Linked DNA regions of Homo sapiens: regions 2 and 3 are each linked to region 1. The links are contacts of gene promoters, found by promoter capture Hi-C in blood cells and fetal thymus (Javierre and others, 2016). All regions are on one chromosome and are shown on one strand. Each heading gives the region's core, a stretch centred on a gene start or on the middle of the fragment in contact. The rest is flanking DNA. Distances are from core to core; before and after follow the strand shown. Region 1 holds the start of IKBKE (inhibitor of nuclear factor kappa B kinase subunit epsilon). Region 2 has its middle 3.5 kb from the start of DYRK3. Region 3 has its middle 21 kb from the start of MAPKAPK2.

The links. The method cuts DNA at HindIII sites, captures the fragments that hold promoters and counts their contacts. A CHiCAGO score of 5 or more calls a contact.
Region 2: a fragment that was not itself captured here is called in contact with the fragment with the promoter of IKBKE in region 1 in 6 of 17 cell types (activated CD4 T cells, total CD8 T cells, neutrophils and 3 more); the score reaches 5.9 in activated CD4 T cells.
Region 3: a contact is called between a fragment that was not itself captured here and the fragment with the promoter of IKBKE in region 1, in 5 of 17 cell types (neutrophils, total CD8 T cells, naive CD4 T cells and 2 more). The highest score is 7.7, in neutrophils.

Annotation. Positions count from the first base shown.
Region 1 is chr1:206,469,226-206,471,925 of GRCh38, reverse strand. It overlaps IKBKE (inhibitor of nuclear factor kappa B kinase subunit epsilon), which reads right to left and starts at 1,450. Exons shown (of 22, transcript NM_014002.4): 1 at 1,228-1,450; 2 at 681-770. RefSeq lists enhancers at 2,074-2,383, 1,903-2,540. The HindIII fragment of the contact is 16,341 bases long and covers 1-2,700 here.
Region 2 is chr1:206,630,639-206,633,338 of GRCh38, reverse strand. No RefSeq gene overlaps it. Among named protein-coding and RNA genes, the nearest start is that of DYRK3, 3.5 kb to the left of the region's middle. RefSeq lists an enhancer at 1,948-2,017. The HindIII fragment of the contact is 1,167 bases long and covers 708-1,874 here.
Region 3 is chr1:206,663,038-206,665,737 of GRCh38, reverse strand. No RefSeq gene overlaps it. Among named protein-coding and RNA genes, the nearest start is that of MAPKAPK2, 21 kb to the left of the region's middle. The HindIII fragment of the contact is 9,186 bases long and covers 1-2,700 here.

The sequences.
Region 1 (2,700 bases), core at 201-2,700:
ATCTTCGTGTTCTAACATCTTACAGGTTCTCAAACTGAGGGTTGCCATGCCTGGAATCCTATGTTCCTTCGCTCTGAACTTTTTCTCTGTGTAATCTTTTTTAAAAATGCAAATCCTTGATAATGTCATTTCATTGAGCCAGAGGCCCCTTGAAGAGATCGGTGGTCAACTCCTAGTTTCAGATCAGGTAGGAGCGGACATTACACAGAAGCAACTGAGGTACTGAGAGGCTTCCTGAAGACAACACAGTAGCTCAGCATGAATGAGTGGGTCTGGTTTTCCCCGCTGAGGCTGGAGGCAGCCAGCAGGTCTGGGGGCTGGGGCTGGGGTTGGAGCACAGCAGGCTGAAATCAAGGCCAAGGGCTCTGATACTGGGGCAAGGAACAGCTCAGGACTCTGGGATAATAGGCAGTGAGGTGCAAAGCGCAGACCCCCAGACAAGCGGTGTGCCCCTGGATTCTGTGCCCGGGAGCTCTGGTTGTGGCACATCTGGCTTAACTCTGCACGCTCTGCAGATCCTCCCCCCACCACCCCAAGCACCTGGTGCAAAGAAGGGCTCAGTGGCCCTCAGCCAGTGGTTGGATGAATGAGCAGTGGACAGTGAAGCATGTGAGACACCACCCACCCACCTCTCCCCTCCCCTCCCTCCTCAGGGCTCTGCTGTGGCCAAGTGCACTTACCCCACACTCTGAGCTGCCCTGAGTCAGGCAAAGGCTCTTCCTGGCGAGTGTATGTTATGCTTTCTGTCTGTGGCACGTCCAGGAGCTGAGCTACACCGGAAAGAGGAGGGCGGATGAGAGGCGCCCCTCAGTGCAGTTGCTTCTCAGCCTCCATCAAAGGCCGCCGGCCCTAGCCCTTTAACCCTTTCCTGTTTGTCACCTTCCCCCACAGGGCTGGGCTGGGGGTTTCCAGCTCTATTCCCAAACTGTTCAGGGAGCCTTTCCCAGCGTCTCCTACTCCTGAGACTCCGGCCAGGGAGAAAGACCCCGGGAAAGGTGAGGGCAGGCGCTGGGTGCTGATCGCTGGCTTTGGGTGTTGGTAAGCAGAGCCCAGGGAGGGCTTGTGGTTGGCCCGTGGTGGCTCACCTCCATGCCACACACAACGCTCTATGTGAGAGCACCGCTGCCAACAAGCCCACACCCCTGCACCCGGCTGAGCTGCCCTGCAGCTGCCCCTTGTCTGGCCCCTCATTCCACCCCCACCCCCCTCCGCACGCTGCACACTCACCCCATCTCCACTGCAGGGGATGCAGGCTTGTGGGACTGGGTGACACCCCCAGAGCTTTCAGGGCTCACTGTCATTCATGAGCAGTGTTCTTAGCCTCCTGGTAGCCAAGGGCCCCTAGGACCCACAGGCAGGGCCAGTTGCAATGTCTGTGCCACCCCAGGAGCTGGGACTAGTGGGTTTCTTCCCTGCCTCCTTGTGGCGGTGGGACACCAAGCTCAGCACTGAGTCCTGGCTCTCAGCTCTCTCGCACTTCCTGATTTCCGTCTCTCGCTCTCTCTTTCTCTCTTAAAGAGACAGAGGCAACTCGGTGCAGCCACCAGCTCAGCAGAAAAGAGAAAGAGGATGCTCTGAGTTCCCAAGGGTAGGCAATAGGACCAGAGTGTGAGCCACAGAGAAGCCAGGAACTGGGGCCCTTCTGGTAATCTTGATGGGCAGCTGGGTGCTGTTTTGGCATCTCCCACAGTTCACTGGAGCAGGGAAGTTCAGGGCTCTTCCCAGAGTCAACAGAGCAGGTTGGGCAAGTTAACTAAGTGGAAAGCTGCCTGGGAAGTCCATGCTCCCACACCCAGGAACCCCAAGGAAGTGTGGGAGCTATGCCGATCCAGTCCTAGAAGTTGGATCTGAGTCACCTTCCCAGGAGGCCTGCAGAGGTCCGAGAGCAAGCGCGGGGACCCAGCTGATGCCTTCCAGTGTGACCTGAGCACACAGCATGCAGCCCCTCCCAGCCAGCTCACTCACCCGCAGAGTAACAGCTACTCTGTGGGTTGATTGGATGACATGGATATATTTGGAATTGTTTGGGAGCTTGGAAAGCATTTTACAGAAAGGCATTGAAGGCATGGAGGCCCACACACTTCAGTAATTTACCCATGCTCTTCAGAGACTGCTGGGGCTGGCACCCAGGTGCCAACTTCCCAGCCAGGACTCGATGCCCCACATCAAATGTCCTAGGAGGCTGGAGGGGTCTGTCCTGCTCTGGTCAGCTCAGAGATGGCAGTTGGATATGAAATGGTTAAAACCAGGAAATTCCATGTTTCTATAGAATGTTGGAGGGACTTTCCCATGGCCACACCTGGTGGTTTCCTCCGCCAGCCCCACCCCTCCCACAGTGACACTAGAACAGGAGCAGAGCTGAGAACTGCCTAGTGCTCAGATAAAGAGAACTCCCCATAACACCTCCAGCTGGAGGAGTTGCTGCAACTTCTCACATCAGGACCAGGAGGAATGTGCCTGAGTGCCTGAGATCCTCATGTTCCACCCAGTCTTCCCAGCTTGCTTTTTTTTTTTGAGATGGAGTCTCACTCTGTCACCCAGGCTGGAGTGCAGTGGCATGATGTTAGCTCACTGCAACCTCCACCTCCTGGGTTCAAGTGATTCTTCTGCCTCAGCCTCCCAAGTATCTGGGACTACAGGCATGCACCACCATGCCCGGCTAACTTTTTGTATTTTTAGTAGAGATGGGGTTTCACTGTG
Region 2 (2,700 bases), core at 42-2,541, 160 kb before region 1:
GTAAAAAAGATGCAACTATTCCAGGATCTTAAAAACCCACTGGGACATTCACAATGTGATCAAAGTTTCAAATGCACAGATTAAGAAAACATCCCCGTGGCCACATTTACCTGGAATTTTGTGATAAAATAGCTGTTAGTAGGTTATGTTAAGTTTGGACAAGTTTCATTGACATTTCTGTACAGCAAAATGTGCCATAATGCCTACTGTGACATGTGCATCACAGAATTGGAAAATATTTTTTAAAAATCACTGGAGAGAACCAGTGAAACTTACTTTTTTCCTCAAGCTATGTTAACCTCAAATTGACCCGTGTTCCTGAAATGTATACTTGCTATTTTTTTCAGAAACACTGAAATCTAGCTCACTGGAACACTAAAGCCATGGCTTATTTTTCTGGAGCCTCAGAAAACTGTCTCTCTTCTATACCTCAGGCATCTCCTGTTCTTATGCCCTCCCCTCTCCACCAAGATTTGAAAAATGCCCCTTATTAACAAAGCAAACAAAAGCCATGCCCGCAGTGCTGTAGTACAGCTACAACTAAGACACACTTAGTTCTGTGTCTCCTAAACCCTAAAGGTTGTCCTTATTATCACAAACTCTTCACCTATTTTTCTTTTCCAAAACTTTTGCCATCTTTTTCCACTTGTTCCTCCTAAGTCAGCGTGACCAGTTCCACCTATAGCCCTGAGGGGTCCTATGAAGCTTCATTTCTGAAATCTTGAAACCAAACCAGGAGTCTTTCTAATCATCATTACCATTTGCTAAGTATTTATTATGTTCCAAGCACTATCTGAAGCACTTTAACATATTTGCTCATTTAAAACTCACAGTAGTCCCGTGAGATAGGTATTATCTCCATCCTACACTTCAGAAAACAGTCTCAGAGTTTAATAACTTGCCCAAGGTCACCCAGCCAGTAAGTGATGAACTGAAATTCAAACCCTGGTCTGTTTGGTTGAAAAACTCAGCCCCTCGACTGCCTGTATTCCACCTGTATTCCCTGAGCCTGGCAGGCTAGCCCAGGCTAGACCACTGGACCCTTGAATTCTGTGACATAGTTTCTCTTGATTTAAGATTCTGAAGATGGTAAGCAGAATGATAGTTCCCCAAAGATGTCCGCATCCTAATTCCAAGAATCTGTAAATATGTCACTTTACTTGACAAAAAGGGACTTAGCAAATGTGATGAAGTTAAGGATCTTGAGATGGGGTGATTTTCCTAGATTATCTGAGTGGGCCCACTGTAATCACAGGAGTCCTTTTAAGATGGAAGGGGAGGCCAGGTGCAGTAACTCATGCCTGTAATCCCAGCACTTTGGGAGGCCGAAGTGGGCGGATCACCTGAGGTCAGGAGTTCGAGACCACCCTGGCCAACATGGTGAAACCCCGTCTCTACTAAAAACACAAAAATTAGCTGGGCATGGTGGTGTGTGCCTGTAGTCCCAACTACTCGGGAGGCTGAGGCAGGAGAATCACTTGAACCCAGGAGGCTGAGGTTGCAGTGAGCAGAGATCACGCCACTGCACTCCAGCCTGGGTGACAGAGTGAGACTCCATCTAAAAAAAAAGGATGGAAGGGGAAAGCAGGAGGGTCAGAGAGGGAAATGTGACCATGGAACAGAGGTCAGAGAGGGAAAGAGATTTGAAGATGCTGTTGTTGGTCTTGAAGATGGAGGAGGGGGCCGTGAGTTAAGGAATGAAGGTGGCCTCTAGAAGCTGGAAAAGGCAGGGAAACAAATTTTCTTCTAGAGCTTCCAGAAGGAACGAATCTCTGCTTACACCTCAATTTTAGGAGTTCTGACTTCCAGAACTGTAAGATAATAAATTTTCCTTGTTTCAAGCCACTAAATTTGTAATTTGTTGCATTAAAGCTTAGGAACCTTGGGTACTGTAATAGATTAAACATAGCACATCCTTTGCAGCTGTTCCCAGGGAGTAGAGGAAACAATTTTCCTGGTTCTTGAAGCTGACTGGCCACGTGACTTGATTTGACCAATAACACGTGAGGAATTTAGGCGCTTAGGCCTCAGGAGACCCCCCTTACAGCTTCTTCTCTCTTGCTCTTAGATGCTGCCACCATGTGGACAAGTCTGAGCTGGATTTCTGTAGTCCTCAGCTAATACCAATTGCCAGACAAGTGAGGGAAGCCACCTGGCTGAGTTGCCAGCTGACAGCAGCCATATGAGAGTTCCACGTAAAGCTAGCAGAAGAACCTCTTGGCTGCACCCCACCCAAATCAACAGCCCCTTGAGAATTATGAGCAAATAAAATGATTACTTTAAGCCACTAAGCTTTGGGGTATGGCAATAAATAAATGATAGGGGTACTTTTGAAAAATACCAATTATGCCTACCCTCCATCCCACCAGATCTAATGATGAACAGTTTCTTGGTAAGGATCTCTGCTCATATTTTTATTGTGGCTGTTGTTCATCAGCCAGGTTTGGAAATCACTACTGTAGACCTTGGAGACCAAGTCCTATTGAGTCATCTGGCTCATGGAAGGTCTTAGAAGACCAATGCACCTGCTCTATTCACAGCATTTGGGCCAAGGAACTAGTTCTCTCTCAATCACCTAGTGTACAGGTTAGGGCTTTTTCTATTGCAAATATCAAACTAAATCTGTTTAAAGAAAATGTACTAGCCGAGTGCGGTGGCTCACGCCTGTAATCCCAGGACTTTGGGAGGCTGAGGCAGGTG
Region 3 (2,700 bases), core at 169-2,668, 190 kb before region 1:
AAACCGAGGAAGCCCCAGCCCCCTTCTCTGCTGTATTATCTGATTAATTCTCCTGGAGAAGGAGCCAGAACACAGTAGCCACTACTCTTGTGCCCAGTCTAGGGAGACCAGAAGGAGAGAATGCGTGCAGTTGAAAAGATAATTAGCAGTGGCTTAAGTCATAAAGAAGCTAATAGTTTCTTTATGGTTCTTTAATAGTGGCAGCCCAGTACAGCTTCTGTTGGAGATGATGAAAAAGTTCTAGAGACAGATGATGGTGATAGTTGCACAACATCGTTAATGTACTTAATGCCAATGAATTGTACATGTAAAAATCATTAAAATAGTAACTTTCGTGTTGTATTTTGCCACAATAAAAAAATTGAGGTACACCTAGCAAAACTCTTGAAAATAACTTTTAAACACACAGTGCAACATTGCTCCCAAAGAATTGACCTTTCAGACCATTCAGACAACTCACCTCATTTTTGTTTTTAAGCCAGCAGTACAAAAAGAAAAGAAAAGAAGCTATAGCAAAAGCTCCACTAACTGACCTGTGGAAAGAGAGTCACAAGCATGGGCGAAGTATCTCCCTTAGGGAGAACAAGAATTTGTTCTCTGTCTTGTGTCTCACCAACAAAATCCAGCATCTGATAGACAAAGAGTCACAGTGCATAAAAGAAATGTCCGGTAAGATACCTAAAAATAAATGTCAATAATAAGACTGTTAAGTGGCAACAACAACAAATAGGCTCACGACTCCTCCCTATGTCTTTCCAGCCTGAGTGCCGTAATCACCATGTCATCCCGTCCTCCTCTGGCCATCAGCCTAGGCAGCTGGAAAGGTGACTTCCTGACCAGAATGAAAGAATCCTAGCAGCCACGAGGAGCTGAGCCTTGTGGGGTATCTCAGGACCAGGCATGGGTGACAGTGATGCTGGCTTCTGACAGGGAAGATCACCCTAGCCAGCAATGGAACTAACTGGGTCGTGGGACCAGGAAGCATCCCTCTTTCCTTGTCTGTGATTAGTGGTTCACATTGGATCTCACAGCCTCCTTGGGAGGCAGACAGTGCCTCTAGCATCATCTCCAAATTACAGATATGGAAACAGCTAGGCTTAAATAAAGAAATTCAAACTCAGATTCAGGGCACAGCGCCAATGCTTCCTCCACTGTGCCATGTTGATCCATAAAGTTGAAAGCCTCTGGCTAGGGACCATAACTGCAAACAGGAGAAAAAGAAGGAAGCTAGAAAGAAAAGGAATCACCCTGGACTCACACCGCAGGCTCCCAGTCACCTTTCAGAGACTTGGGGGAGAAATTGCAAGACCAAGTGAGGGCCAAGTAAGCTGCCCCTGTGTAATCTTATCCCGATATTCACCACCAGGGGGGGTAGTTGCTCCACATCGGTGGTCTTTCTGCGGCGCTAAGGAGGTATTTGCTAAGGGTGAGAGACCCTCAGGGCTCTAAGGGGTCTTTTTCTCTCTCCCTTGCCCGAGTGCTGCCTGCATTTGCTTAGCACGCGTCACCCTGTTTTAGATAAGGAAGGCATTGCAGAGATCATCTGGTCCCAGGCAGCTGGCAGTTCCCCCTACTCTTAAGAGCTCCAAAAATAGACTCCAGCACCTCAGTTGGCTGCTATCACAAGGCTGCCGGTGTGGTCTGTTGGCTGCCCACAGCCCTGAAACAGGAGCCGGACTAGGGCGGGTGAGCCCCAGGCGACCCTGCATTCGCCCTTGCGGAGGAAGCAGCGGTTCCTCCTGCCCTAGAGACCCTGCACAGCTGCCCCAGCACCTGCTCCCACGGCACCTGCTCCCACCCTTCTGGCCTCCTCACTGGCCATGCCGGCTCCCCTCCGTGCCCAGTGCCTGAAACCCTTGGCTTGCAAGCCCAAAGGCTGCAGCCCCTTCGTCTGCCTCTTGAGCTCCTTATTCTAAGAAGCAGCCTTGGTAGAGGTGAGCCTGGGCTCACAGAACCCCATTTAGCATCTACTCCCGCCTTCTCTTGTCCCCATGCATCTGCTCGTACTTCATTCCACCTGGCATCCTTGGAGGAATGGCTAATTAAATGGAAAAGAGCTGGCCTATTTTTTGGTGTTTTTCAGCTTAGACCTGGGGGAATTGTCACAAAATGTGGAACGAGCCCTGGGGAAACTGACAAGCTCTGGGGTTGGCTGGTTCCTCTAGGATTGGCAGTTCCTGAGTCCCACAGACTGGCTGTTCCACTTAAGGTTTCATCTCATTCTCTCGGTCGTCAAATTTGGGAATGGGGTAAAAACTGGAGGAAGGGGAAATGTCCTCCTGGGTGTTCAACCCACATTGTCCTAGAAGAGGAAATAAGCTCATTTATTTGGCCCCGTTCTTTAGTTGCAAAATCAGGATGGTAACAGATTTCAAATAACAACTGTTCTCTGGAGAAAGATGGGGATGGGGAGGTGAGGAGGTGGGATGTGGGGTGGGGCCCCGAGAGGAGCAGAGGAACAGATCCCTGTCTCAGGTCCTATTGCTTGCATTTGAACAGTGCCATCTCCTCCTAGAAAATTGCCTTTCCAAAAAGAAGCTCATTGTGTCCCTCCCTTGCATTAGAACATCTTTGGTTCCTTATTTGTCTGCTTAACTGGTGAACTCCTTAACTGGAGCTATAATATCCCTTTAAACCATCCCACAGCTTTTCCACTAGACTCAATTACTGCCATCCTAGGCTCTGGCCACCCTTAATTTT